Linked DNA regions of Homo sapiens: all the other regions are linked to region 3. Evidence: promoter capture Hi-C in human tissues and cell types (Jung and others, 2019). All regions are on one chromosome and are shown on one strand. The core of a region is centred on a gene start or on the middle of the fragment in contact, and the rest is flanking DNA. Distances in the headings are between cores, read along the strand shown. Region 1 holds the start of EPHB4 (EPH receptor B4). Region 2 overlaps SLC12A9-AS1 (SLC12A9 antisense RNA 1). Region 3 holds the start of TSC22D4 (TSC22 domain family member 4).

The links. The method cuts DNA at HindIII sites, captures the fragments that hold promoters and counts their contacts. A contact is called where the count stands out against the background at its distance.
Region 1: a contact is called between the fragment with the promoter of EPHB4 here and the fragment with the promoter of TSC22D4 in region 3, in 2 of the 25 tissues and cell types used here (bladder and heart right ventricle).
Region 2: a fragment that was not itself captured here is called in contact with the fragment with the promoter of TSC22D4 in region 3 in 1 of the 25 tissues and cell types used here (dorsolateral prefrontal cortex).

What each region holds. Positions count from the first base shown.
Region 1 is chr7:100,825,626-100,830,064 of GRCh38, reverse strand. It overlaps EPHB4 (EPH receptor B4), which reads left to right and starts at 2,542. Exons shown (of 17, transcript NM_004444.5): 1 at 2,542-3,086. The coding sequence starts at 3,035. It also overlaps a transcript of SLC12A9 not described here. RefSeq lists enhancers at 151-946, 1,743-2,538. The HindIII fragment of the contact is 16,187 bases long and covers 117-4,439 here.
Region 2 is chr7:100,843,089-100,847,708 of GRCh38, reverse strand. All of the region lies in intron 1 of SLC12A9-AS1 (SLC12A9 antisense RNA 1), which reads left to right. It also overlaps a transcript of SLC12A9 not described here. Among named protein-coding and RNA genes, the nearest start is that of SLC12A9-AS1, 7.2 kb to the left of the region's middle. The HindIII fragment of the contact is 3,628 bases long and covers 538-4,165 here.
Region 3 is chr7:100,476,214-100,480,478 of GRCh38, reverse strand. It overlaps TSC22D4 (TSC22 domain family member 4), which reads left to right and starts at 1,265. Exons shown (of 5, transcript NM_030935.5): 1 at 1,265-1,685; 2 at 2,172-3,202. The coding sequence starts at 2,441. TSC22D4-C7ORF61 (TSC22D4-C7orf61 readthrough) reads left to right here and starts at 1,265. Exons shown (of 6, transcript NM_001395846.1): 1 at 1,265-1,685; 2 at 2,172-3,202. The coding sequence starts at 2,441. RefSeq lists enhancers at 750-859, 1,560-1,629 and a silencer at 950-1,109. The HindIII fragment of the contact is 44,126 bases long and covers 1-4,265 here.

The DNA.
Region 1 (4,439 bases), core at 1,293-3,792, 350 kb before region 3:
ATTTATTTACTTATTTATTTACTTTATATATTTTTTGGAGACAGAGTGTGGCTCTGTTGCCCAGGCTGGAGTGCAGTGGTGCAATCTCTGCTCACTGCAACTTCTGCCTCCCGGGTTCAAGCGATTCTCGTGCCTCAGCCTCCCTAGTAGCTGGGACTACAGGTGTGTGCCATGATGCCCAGCTGATTTTTGTATTTTTAGTAGAGAGGGGTTTCACCATGTTGGCTAGGCTGGTCTCGAACTCTTGGGCTCAAGTGATCCACCCGCCTCGGCCTCCCAAAATGCTGAGATTACAGACCTGAGCTACTGTCCCCAGCCAGAAGACATAACTTTTAGAGGCTACAGGATCTGGGTACAGAGTGAGAGTGGCAAAAGGCAGGGCAGGGGTTTGGGAGAGGGTTGCAGAGAACCCCGAGGGAGAAGCTGAATAAGAGAAGGGGAGACTGGGCCTGCATCGGGGAGGGAGGAGGGAATTCCCAGCTCCAGCCTGGTCTGCCTGGCTCCAGTGAAGCCGGCTGTTTCCTGCCCTCGGTGACCGGCCCACCCCCCCCAACCCGGGCGCAGGACCCAGGCAGAACAGCAAGGAAGGGCAGGGGTGTGGGGAACACCTCTTGCAGCAGGAAGATAAGTAAGCCGGGACAAGAGGTTATCACAGGCCCGGCTGTCCTTTCTGGGACGTAAGGGCGCTTGGCAGCCCCCCAAGCATCCTGGACTCCAACGTCTCTCTTGCTGGGCTCCAACGTCTCTCTTGCTGGGCTCCTCAAGATTCTGTCCTCCGGCTGGGCGCGGTGGCTAACGTCTGTAATCCCAGCACTTTGGGAGGCCAAGGTGGGTGGATCACTTTAGGTCAGGAGTTCGAGACCAGCCTGGCCAACATGGCGAAACCCTGTCTCTACTAAAAATACGAAAACTAGCCGGGGTTGGTGCCCTGTGCCTGTAATCCCAGCTACTCGGGAGGCTGAGGCAGGAGAATCGCTTGAACCTGGGAGGCGGAGGTTGCAGTGAGCCCAGATCACGCCACTGCACTCCAGCCTGGGAAATAGAGGGAGACTCTGTCTCAAAAAAAAAAAAAAAATCTGTCCCCGCTAATTACTGTGGGAGTCTAAGTCCTTTCCTTCTGCCCCTTGGAGGGGCTGACTCCTGGAGCAGCACCCCCTCCAATCCATCTATCCAGTAACCCATACTGTTAAGTTCCCTGAAGTAGAAGGGGGTTGGTGGGAGGAGCACGGCTGTGCTGGACCCTCCCCGCTAACTGATGGGAGGGTGAGGGGAGTTGGCAGTGAGAGGAAGGGCCCCTCCCAGCCATCCCGAGGGCCCCCAGGAGCCAGACAGGAAACAGCTCAGGAAAGACAGCAGCCGCAGCCGCAGCCCCAGCCTCAGGGGTCATGGCTGCGGGCGGCGGGGAAGCCCCCCCAAAACACGAGAGTGAGAGTGAGAAGGGCGATTTGGAGATCTAGCCGGACCCCTCACCCTCTCGGACACACCCACCTTTTTTTTTTTTTTTTTTTTTTTTGAGATTTCGTCTCACTCTGTAGCCCAGGCTGGAGTGCAGTGGCGCGATCTCAGCTCCCAGCTCACTGCAACCTCCGCCTCCTAGGTCCCGGTTCAAGCAATTCTCCTGCCTCAGCCTCCCGAGTAGCTAGGATTACAGGCGCGCGCCACCATGCCCAGCTAATTTTTGTATTTTTAGTAGAGACGGGGTTTCATCATGTTGGCCAGGCTGGTCTTGAACTCCTGACCTCAAATGATCCGCCTGCCTCTGCCTCCCAAAATGCTGGGACTACAGGCGTGAGCCACCGCGCCCGCCACACCCACCTTTTCTTTACCGTTGTTTCCTCGATTTTTCTCTACTCCCTAGCGCAGCTTAGTGCGCGCCTCCTCTGGACATTTTTCAGGGCTTGGTTGCGCGCACAGTAGGTCCCCAACACTGAATGTTTATGGGGTGACTGTGTGAACGTTCGCTGCAAGGCTATCCAAACTGGGATTGCTCCTTGAGGCCCCCTGGGCGGCCGTCAATTCTCCAAAGCTTCTACTCCCTTTTCCTTCCTTTTCCCCCAAAACGCAGTCCCTGCGCCCACTAGAGGGTGGTGGGCGCATCCAAGAGCGGCATCTAGAGTCCGCAGCAAGGTCAGAGCGGGCTTTGTGTGCGCGGTGAACATTTACGTGCACGCCTGGGCGGCCCTCCGTGTTGCTGCTGGGTGTGTGTTTTCTCTGCTCCCTGGTGCCAGCCGGGTTCGGGCCTGTCCCGGGGGTCCCTGGGCCCCAGCCCCGACATGCTCGGTCCTGGACAGCGCGCACCGCCACGGCGCACATCTGGGCGGTCCCGGGGTTCCTCACCCGCCGCCCCTCCCCCTTCTCCAAACTTTCTCTCAACTTCCCGACCTGCTCCACTCGGTGCCCCTCTCCGCTTCCCTCATGAATTATTCAGTAGCGTGAGCTCCAATCAGCGCGCCCGGGGCTCACTCGCGGAGCCCCCGCGTTGGGAGAGCTGCCCCCGCCCCCCGCGCGCCCCTCCCTCCCGGGCCCGGCGCCGCCCGGCCCAGTTCCAGCGCAGCTCAGCCCCTGCCCGGCCCGGCCCGCCCGGCTCCGCGCCGCAGTCTCCCTCCCTCCCGCTCCGTCCCCGCTCGGGCTCCCACCATCCCCGCCCGCGAGGAGAGCACTCGGCCCGGCGGCGCGAGCAGAGCCACTCCAGGGAGGGGGGGAGACCGCGAGCGGCCGGCTCAGCCCCCGCCACCCGGGGCGGGACCCCGAGGCCCCGGAGGGACCCCAACTCCAGCCACGTCTTGCTGCGCGCCCGCCCGGCGCGGCCACTGCCAGCACGCTCCGGGCCCGCCGCCCGCGCGCGCGGCACAGACGCGGGGCCACACTTGGCGCCGCCGCCCGGTGCCCCGCACGCTCGCATGGGCCCGCGCTGAGGGCCCCGACGAGGAGTCCCGCGCGGAGTATCGGCGTCCACCCGCCCAGGGAGAGTCAGACCTGGGGGGGCGAGGGCCCCCCAAACTCAGTTCGGATCCTACCCGAGTGAGGCGGCGCCATGGAGCTCCGGGTGCTGCTCTGCTGGGCTTCGTTGGCCGCAGCTTTGGAAGGTGAGTTTCCTTGCGGGGGGGGGCGCACCCCGTCACTCCTGGGACCTCCCCCCCAACATCTGGGCCTCGGAGTGGAGGGGCCGGCCTCTGACTACCCCTACCCGGGCACTGCAGTCCCAAACACTTCGGACCGATAGTGCTGGAACGGGAGGGGGGCGGGGAAGAGGCGCCCGACGGGTAGTGGAGTTTTCTTTTGTTTGGGAAAGAGATGGAGTCTGGCTACGACCCGGGACATTCCCCTGCCCGGGCTCCCCGAACTCTCACTGCTGATTACATACGCCCCTGGCTGCCTTTCCTTTCCTCCCTACCCCACTATTCAAAACTATCTGCAAAGTTTCTGTCCCAGTCCCACCTCCCGCCGTACATGAGGGAAGGTTTCTGGAGAAGCAACAGCAGACAAGGCACAACTTTTCGTGCTAGGCCCTAAAACGACCCCCAGCGCCAATTCCTTAGCGATCACACCTTGATCCTCCAGTTCCACACTCCTGCAACAGGATGGCCTCCTTTGCATTCACACAGCAAACCCCCAAACCGCTCTCCCGCCCACTGCTCCTGCCCCTGGTATAGGGTGGCTCCTTGGTTTCTACAGGCTGCACCCCATCCCTTTAAATGCGGTCTAGACCCCGGCCCCAGGTGAGTCCCGGGCTTCCCTTGAGACCTAGGAGCGGGTAGAAACTGACCTACACAGCCCCCAGGTAGAAACTGACCTACACAGCCCCCACATCGCCCTAACTAACCCAGTCTATCTCCCACCTCCTGGTCTCTCCAAGCATTTCTTTGGCCATGGATCGCTGTCCCTCCTGGTCCCCTAAAGGGGGAGCCAAGAGCCCTAGAAACTCTCCTGTGTCCCTAATGTCCTTTCAGTGAGCTGCCAACACCCCCCTTTCTCTGTCTGGTATGAAAGTGGTTATGGGGCGGTAGGCTATGAGGGACTCCCAAAGGGAAGGATTCAGCGGCGTTAGAAAAACCCTCTCCCCCTGGCTGGGCAGGACTGCCCTGGGCTGGGGATCAAAGGCTAGGTGTGGGGTTGGGAGTGAGGGGAGGCTTGCCCAGCTCAGAGAACGGAGAAGGGGGAACAAAAACCATGAACGAGGGGAAGAGGAAGGCCAAAGGGGTGGAAAAACCACGAGGACGAGGTGTGGTGAGAAGGAAAGACGCAAAGAGGAAATGGTGATTGTGACACCTATTACCTGAGTGTTTCCAAGCACCAGGCCTGTGCTGAGCGCCTTACAAATATTAATTTCACCCATCCAGCAACGCTAAGGGTGGTGCTATTATTGCCCCCATTTTTCAGATGAGGAGGCTGGGGCTTAGTTAAGGTTAAGTAGTTTATCCAAGGCCCTGTGCCGCGAG
Region 2 (4,620 bases), core at 1,102-3,601, 370 kb before region 3:
TCCTCTCAGGCCGGAAACCTGGGGTTACACCGGAATACTCTCACATCCAACATCCACACCATAGACAATTCCTTTGGCCTCCACTTTCAAGTTATAACCAGTCTGCAACCACATTTTACCACCCAAGTCCAAGCCACCATCACCTCTTCCGCTTTCACAATAGCCTCCTAACTGGTTTTCCCACTTCTGCACTTGTCCCAAAATCTATTCTCAGCTGAGCAGCTAGAGGGGTGCTGTTTAGGTAAACATCCATTCCCGATGGGTGCCACCTTTCATAATTCTCCAATGACATGCCTTTCTCCTCAAAGCAAAAGCCAAAGGCCACATCTGTAAATATGATGGCCTGACTCACCAACTACAGTCCTGCTGTATGCCTGATGCCTTGACTTCAATATTAACAGCATCTCCCGGCTGGGCGCGGTGGCTCACGCCTGTACTCCCACCATTTGGGGAGGCCAAGGCGGGTGGATCACTTGAGGTCAGGCGTTTAGGACCAGCCTGGCCAACATTGTATTTCCATTAATGTAGCAGGACGAGCCGCAGACAAAACTCCTCAGACACTGAGTTAAAGAAGGAAGGGGTTTATTCGGCCGGGGGCATCGGCAAGACTCTTGTCTCAAGAGCCAAGCTCCTCGAGTGAGCAATTCCTGTCTTTTTTAAGGGCTCACAACTCTCAGGGGGCGCGCAAGAGAGGGTCTTGATCGATTGAGCAAGCAGGGGGTACGTGACTGGGGGCTGCATGCACCGGTAATTAGATTGGAAGAAAACAGGACAGGGATTTTCACAGTGCTTTTCTATACAATGTCTATAATCTATAGATAACATAACCGATTAGGTCAGGGGTCGATCTTTAACTACTAGGCCTAGGGTGTGGCACCAGGCTGTCTGCTTGTGGATTTTATTTCTGCCTTTTAGTTTTTACTTTTTCTTTCTTTGGAGGCAGAAATTGGGCATAAGACAATATGAGGGGCGGTCTCTTCCTTTATTCCTCCCCTTTGAGACTCACTCAATAGTGGAAGTTCTCACTTTCATTCTCACTACCCATGTCTTCTTGCACGACAGATCGATAGTGATTCATATAGTACACTTGTGCTGAAGCATTTTGGTGAACTAAGGTAGCGATGAAGCTTTTTTTTTTTTTTGAGACGGAGTCTCACTTTGTCGCCCAGGCTAGAGTGCAGTGGCGCGATCTCGGCTCACTGCCAGCTCCGCCTCCTGGGTTCATGCCATTCTCCTGCCTCAGCCTCCCGAGTAACTGGGACTACAGGCGCCCGCCACCACGCCCGGCTCATTTTTTTGTATTTTTAGTAGAGACAGGGTTTCACCGTGTTAGCCAGGATGGTCTCCATCTCCTGACCTCGTGATCCACCCGCCTCGGCCTCCCAAAGTGCTGGGATTACAGGCGTGAGCCACCGCGCCCGGCCTGCAATGAAGCTTTTTATCATTTGAAGAAGTACAGGTAGCAAACAAAGGAGCAGTAAGCAGGTTCCTATTACTATTATAACTCTTATTATAAGACTTTTAAATTCTCTTAGCACTGGGAACCATTTTCTAAACATGGCCTCAGGATCAAATCCATGCCACACTTGCCTAGGCACATGTGCCAGTTTTGTCATATCTCTATGTCTTCAACTACTTGCCTTTGATTATCTATGTGTAGGCAGCAATTAGTAAGGTTAAATTTCTTACAGACCTCTCCTTCAGCTGCTAGCAAGTAGTCGAGAGCTAATCTATTTTGATAGAGAGCATTTCTCATCTGAGTTTCTTGCCGGCCTAGAATAGTCAAGGCTCTGCTGGTTTTATTAGTGATTATTTTTAAGACAGCTTGTAACCATATGATTCAGTTGATTATATAAATGGGGGTCCAGTATCTTCACGAGCCGTCTTGTGTCTAAGTAGCAGGCCTATAATATTGTATGATTCTCTCAGAGGGCCATTTATCATTTTTTGAATTTCCTATGGCTATGCTTCTCTTTTCACGGGAAGCATAGACAGGGAAGCCTAGGAGTTGGCCTGTTTTTATGGGCAGTAGGAAGAAAGATGGTTTAATAGTGCCAATAGGCCGGGCGTGGTGGCCCACGCCTATAATCCCAGCACTTTGGGAGGCCGAGGCGGGTGGATCACAAGGGCAGGAGATCGAGACCATCCTGGCTTACATGGTGAAACCCCGTCTCTACTAAAAATACAAAAAATTAGCCGGGCATGGTGGCGGGCTCCTGTAGTCCCAGCTACTCGGGAGGCTGAGGCAGGAGAATGGCGTGAACCCGGGAGGTAGAGTTTGCAGTGAGCCGAGATTGCTCCACTGCACTCCAGCCTGGGCGACAGAGCAAGACTCCGTCTCAAAAAAATAAATAAATAAATAAAATAAAATAGCGCCAATAACACAACTACTTGTCTGCTGGTCAGGCAGCCTAGCGTAGGCTCTATGTCCACATATCTAGTATAGCCTAGTGGGGGCCGTCCAGTCCTGGTGGGATTCTGGGTGGGCCTAAACGGTCCGCAACTTTGGAAATTTAGTGAATGGATTTTTCTCTGTGTGGTTTGAAGTCCACCATGCAGTCTTCCTACAGGAAGGATGAAGTCCTTCTCCACTTTTGCTATACAGTATTGTCCAATGATTGAGGCTTTTAGGACCTAGAAGTGATCAGGGTGATTTTTTTGTGCCAGGAATTCATCAGGAACTGGGTATGTAGGTACCAATTCTCGGGCTTCCCATGGCCATTGATCTCCTATTACAGCTCCTCCACATATATAACAGGAAGTGACATTGAGAGACTGGGCTGCACGCTCGGCTAATTGCAAAAACAAATTTCTTGTTTTTCCTGGAATTTCTGGTACTGGCACTTTTAGTTTATCATAGAAGTTTTGAAATACTGGCTCAGGAGAGCGTTTATAAACTTCTCCTCGAACTAAGATATTTACTCGAGGATCCAGTCCAGCCCCGTTGATTCCTAAGGTCACACGCTCCTCTTTTTTCTAGCGAGGATCAAGGGGATTGGTTATTACTAGCTCTAAAGGGTTACATTGTCCTTTAGTACAGGAAGGGCCATTTTTTCCTTTCTGAAGGTGGACTGGGTCCTTTTTATTTTTTTTTAATTTAAGTGGCTTAAATGACACAAGACCAGTATTTACATTTATTTCCACACAGTCCTAATTTATGACAGATGTACTTATTTTCTGCCATATAGCCTCTTTTCTAATTAAGAGAACTACACCTTATTCCCAACTTATTACTATTAATGATAGCACAGGCATCAAATTTTAACGTGACTTGTTTGGGCACCTCTTTTTCTTCTGTTTTGGTTAACACTTTACTCATATCGTTTGTGAGCCCCCACCAGTCTTCATTCTTAATCTTATTTTAAAAACTGTGGTCATGGGAGGCTCAGGTGGGTCATAACGCACATCAGGTTGGTCATTTCCTGGGCTACATACCTTGTACAGAATAACATTATACAAACAAGGCTTTTTTAGAGTTCTAGTACACTTATAATAACTGTAAAATAATAGGACCATAGCAACCTTTTGTCCTACCTCAGTGACTTGATGTATATACTGGGAACAGTCCTCAGTCTGAGGAAGGTCAGTTGAAGTCCTTACTGTAAAATTCCAAATTTTAAGGCAAATGAGTCCTGCGATGAGTTTTCTCATGCTTCGGCCATGCGTGGACCAGTCAGCTTCCGGGTGTGACTGGAGCAGGGCTTGTCATCTTCTTCAGAGTCACTTTGCAGGGGCTGGCGAAGCTGCTTCCGTCCACATACTGCTCACAGTCTACTGATGTTTAAGGATGGTTTCGGAGGTTGGGCCTGCTAGGATAAACTGAGTCTAACACCCCTATACAGTTATGTTCAACTGGGCTTTCTGATACTGGCAGCAAGGTGGTGGGGTTTAGGGTGTTGCAAACTTCAATGGTTATGTGGGGATTTTCACATAGCAAGCTTTGGTACTTGGTTAATCTAGCATTTGTAACCAATGAGGTCCTTTGGTAGTCATTCAAGTTACCACAGCATGGGGGGACTTTATATTCAGGTTTTGCCTAAGGGTTAGTTTATCTGCTTCTTGTGCTAACAGGGCCATTGCTGCTAGGGCCCTTAAACCTGGGGGCCAGCCTTTGGAAACCTTGTCTAGTTGTTTTGAGAGATAGGCCACTGGCCTTGCCCAGGGCCCTACAGTCTGGGTTAAAACTCTAACTGCCTTTTTTTCTCTTTCTGACACGTAGGGTGTAAAGGGTTCAGGTAGCCTCAGGGCTGGGGCCGACATGAGTTTTTCTTTTAACTCATGAAAAGCTCATTGCTGTTGGTTGTAATAGATGTAGTTTATCTAATCTACATTTTTATTAACTGTCACTCACCAAAATATTGACTCAAATCCTGCAGCTATTTGATTTCAAGCTTTAAATTGATCTGGTATTCCTCATGGGACTCCAATTGCGTCTAAATAGACATGAGAGTCAAAAGACCCATAAGGGGCTTCTCTCGCTTTACAATGTCTTATTTTTTCTCCCTCTGGTTGATGAAATGCCAGGGTGAAAGGGATAGCCAATTGGACTAAAGTACAAGTGCCACTCCAGTTATTCGGCAGAGTGCCTAGTAAAGGTCCACCAAAATACCACCACACATC
Region 3 (4,265 bases), core at 16-2,515:
GGAGTTTGCATGGTCTCCCCATGTCTGCATGGCATGTTTGAAAATTTTCATAATAATCCACTTTTTTTTTTTTTTTGAGACATGGTCTCACTCTGTTGCCCAGGCTGGAGTGCAGTGGCACAATCTTGGCTCACTGCATCCTCAACCTCCTGGGCTCAAGAGATCCTCCTGCCTCACAGCCTCCTGAGTAGCTGGGACTACAGGTATACATCACCACACTCAGTTTTTTTTTTTTTTTAAGATGGAGTCTCACTCTGTCACCAGGCTGGAGTGCAGTGGCGTGATCTCGACTCACTGCAACCTCCGCCTCCCAGGTTGAAGTGATTCTCCTGCCTCAGCCTCCCGAGTAGCTGGGACTACAGGTGCCCGCCACCACACCTGGCTAATTTTTGTATTTTAAGTAGAGACTTGGTTTCACCATGTTGGCCAGGATGGTCTTAATCTCTTGACCTCGTGATCCGCCCGCCTCGGCCTCCCAAAGTGCTAATTTTTTAAATTTTTTGTAGAGATGGGGATCTCGTTATATTGCCCAGGCTGGTCACGAACTCCTGGGCTCAAGCGATCCTCCCACCTTTGAGTAGCTGGAATTATAGGTGCACATCACCATGCCCAGCTATTTTTTTTTATTTTTTGTAGAGATGGGGTCTTGCTATTATATTGTCCAAACTGGTCTCAAGCGATCCTCCTTCCTCGACCTCCCAAAGTGCGGAGATTACAGGCATGAGCCACCACCGGGATCCGGCAATAATCCACTTTTAAAAATAAGGAATGGGGGGAATAATGCAGTTGCTGTGAAAACCAAAGGAGAATGACAGTAACAGCCACAGCTGCCCCACAGCAGGGACTGGGAACTTCTGGGTGGGCATGCAGCACACCTCCCGGCCTGTGCCTTCCGTCTCTTCTGTGTGTCTCTAGGCCAATGGCAGCAATTGACTACAAGTAAGGGAATCCCTCGCCTCCCTGCAAGCTCCTCCCCTTTCTCCCCGAGCCCCGCCCCCTGCAGCCCCTCCCTGCAAGAGTGGGGCTAGGGCCCGGCAGGTGTGGGGTTAAGGGAGTCTGTTTGGGGCCCCCAGGAGCAGCAGCCTAAGCAGTGGCTGCAGCAACTGCAACAGCAGCGGCTGTGGCAGGCCTGGCCCCGGGCCAGCTGGCGGGAAGCCCCAGGAGGGAGGGAGGGAGGAGGAAGGGGAGGAAGAGGGGAAGGAGGAGGAGGAGGAGGAGAGGAGCAGTCAGCAGGCCCGAGGAGGCAGGACTTCCTGGTGTGGGGGTTGTCAACAGCCCAGAAAGAGAAAGACGGAGAGGCAGAGACCCAGGGGAGCCGAGGAGCGGAGACACGGACCCAGCAGGGTCACGCGGGAGGAGACTCGGGACACCCACTCGCTGGCTGCCACCGGGAGCAGAGGGGGGCTCGGCCGCCCCCTCCCACATCAGTCTCCAGACCCTTGGGGCTTCAGAGGCCGCTCCTAGGCTCCTCGGAGGAGGCGCGGGTTTCTTCTTTTCCGGAGAGCAAACTTTCCTCGGAGATGCCTGGCAGGATGAGCCGCGGCCCCCGGAGAGGACGGGACAGCCTCTGATCGCCGCCTGCGTGCCCCGCCACTGCCCATGGCCAGGAGGCCCCAGGGAACGGACAGCCCGACCTCTTAGGCGCCGGGACCCTCAGGCTCAGATCAGTGGCCGAGGCCCCAGAGGTAGGGTTCAGGGCTGGGTGGGGCGCTGGGGGGTAGCCGGGCAGGGCCTGCCCCAGAGATGTGGGAGCTGGGGTGAGGGTGGGGGCTCGAGGCCCAGGAGAGGTCTCTCTGAGTGGCCGGGCCAGGCTGGGGAGCTGCTTCAGCCTGGTTCTCCCAGGCCCTGGAGTCCGAGCTCTTGGGACAATACGGGCCCCCTGAGTCAGAATCCCAGGCGAGAAATGCCCAACTCTGGGACTCATCTGCCTCTTTCTACTCTGAGTGCCTTCTTGGATCCAGTCCCCTCTGCCCTGGTCTCTGTCATCTCTTGCCTGTCTCTGGGTCTCTGACGGTTTCCCCTTCCCCCACTCTGCTCCCCGGAGAGGAAGCCCCGGAGGTGGCCTGCCCACTGGTTTCACACACACACACACACACACACACACACACACACACACACACACACACACTCTCTCTCTCTCTCTCTCTCTCTCTCTCCCCCTCTTTTTCCAGTTTGCAAACTCAGCTCTGGAGTTCAGCAGCAACAGCAGCAGGAAAAACCTGCCCCTGCTCCCCCCTCCCGCCACCTCCCCTCTCCTCTTCTCCCCTCACCCAGCAGGCACCCCCGGTTCCCGCCAGGCCCTCCTGCCATGTCGGACCCAGACGTCCCCAGGGGCTCGGATGTCCCCGCCATGTGGCCCCCTTGTTCCAGGGGTGCCTGAGCCCCTTCAAGGAGCCCCAACCCACCCCCAACCTTGGCCCAGCCCTGAGCCCCAGGGACCATGAGCGGGGGCAAGAAGAAGAGTAGTTTCCAAATCACCAGCGTCACCACGGACTATGAGGGCCCTGGGAGCCCAGGGGCTTCGGATCCCCCTACCCCACAGCCCCCAACCGGGCCCCCGCCCCGCCTGCCCAATGGGGAGCCCAGCCCCGATCCGGGGGGCAAGGGCACCCCCCGGAATGGCTCCCCACCACCTGGGGCCCCTTCCTCCCGTTTCCGGGTGGTGAAGCTGCCCCACGGCCTGGGAGAGCCTTATCGCCGCGGTCGCTGGACGTGTGTGGATGTTTATGAGCGAGACCTGGAGCCCCACAGCTTCGGCGGACTCCTGGAGGGAATTCGAGGGGCCTCAGGGGGCGCCGGGGGCAGATCTTTGGATTCCAGGTTGGAGCTGGCCAGCCTCGGCCTGGGCGCCCCCACCCCACCGTCAGGCCTGTCTCAGGGCCCCACCTCCTGGCTCCGTCCACCCCCCACCTCTCCTGGACCTCAGGCCCGCTCCTTCACTGGGGGACTGGGCCAGCTGGTGGTGCCCAGCAAAGCCAAGGCAGAGAAACCCCCACTGTCGGCCTCCTCACCCCAGCAGCGCCCCCCAGAGCCTGAGACCGGTGAGAGTGCGGGCACATCCCGGGCTGCCACGCCCCTGCCCTCTCTGAGGGTGGAAGCGGAGGCTGGGGGCTCAGGGGCCAGGACCCCTCCACTGTCCCGGAGGAAAGCTGTAGACATGCGGCTGCGGATGGAGTTGGGTGCTCCAGAAGAGATGGGGCAGGTAAGACCTGGGTTCTAGGGCTGGCCCATCAGCCCTGGCCTAACCTCTATCTTGAGCCTCCTTCCTCCTCCTCCCCCCCCTCTCCTCCTCCTTCTCCATCACTTTATAAGATCAGATAGCCCTCTTCTCTGTGCCTGCCAGGTCACTCTGAAGCCCCTTCCTCCTACTTCATTTTCTGTCTCAGCCTCCTTCCTGTTTTTCTGCACCCTCTCTCTTTCTCCCTGGCCTCTGATTCTCTGTCTTGGTCTTCATGTAGCCTGTAGCATATGTGGCCCCCTCATCAGGCCTTCTTCTGTCTTGGTCTCAGCCCCTCTGCCTCTAGGTGATGAGGGTGGAGGCCCCAGCTGGATAGCTGGGTAGCTGGGTCCCTAGGGGAGGAGCTGCCAGGATTTGGGGAGGAAAAGTAAAAGGTAGGCCTTGCGCGCTGCCAGTCTCTGCACTGCAGCCCCATCCTGAATGTGGGGGTCTTTCTTTTCCCCCAGCCACCCATCTCAGTCCTGCCTCCAGCTTTGCTGTAAGCCAAGTGTCACTGAGAAATTGGGTGGGGGGAACACCTCTCAGGGACAGGGAGGGGGCCTGCTGGTTGATCCATTTCACCCCCCAGTTGTCTGGCTCACCCCCGTCCATCTGAGCCTCTCTGTGATTGATAACTCGAGGGTGACCACTGTGGAGTGGGAGAGAAGAGCCCCAGAAGGGAGTTCAGTCCCATACTCTTTCTCCTTCCTGTCTCCAAAAGAGGAACAAGCCAGGCTGTGGGGGCAGGATGCCTGGGTCCCCATGGTGGGGGTGAGCAGCCAGAGATAGAAGGTTGGATACTTCTGTCCTGTGGGAGAATATAACACCTCGGAGGTCTGGGGAAAGGCAGGGAGTGTGAGGATGCGAACTCTTTCCCCTTCCTGGCCTTGGGCACAAACCACAGTATAAAAATAACCTGGGACTGGATGTCTGGGTCCTGTCAGGACCGGTCAGGACTGGCTCCCCCCAAACCCCTCCTGGCCTCAAGCTCACATCTCTCGTGATGCCCCCTCCTACCCCCCCTCCCCCAACTCTTCTTGAACTCTTG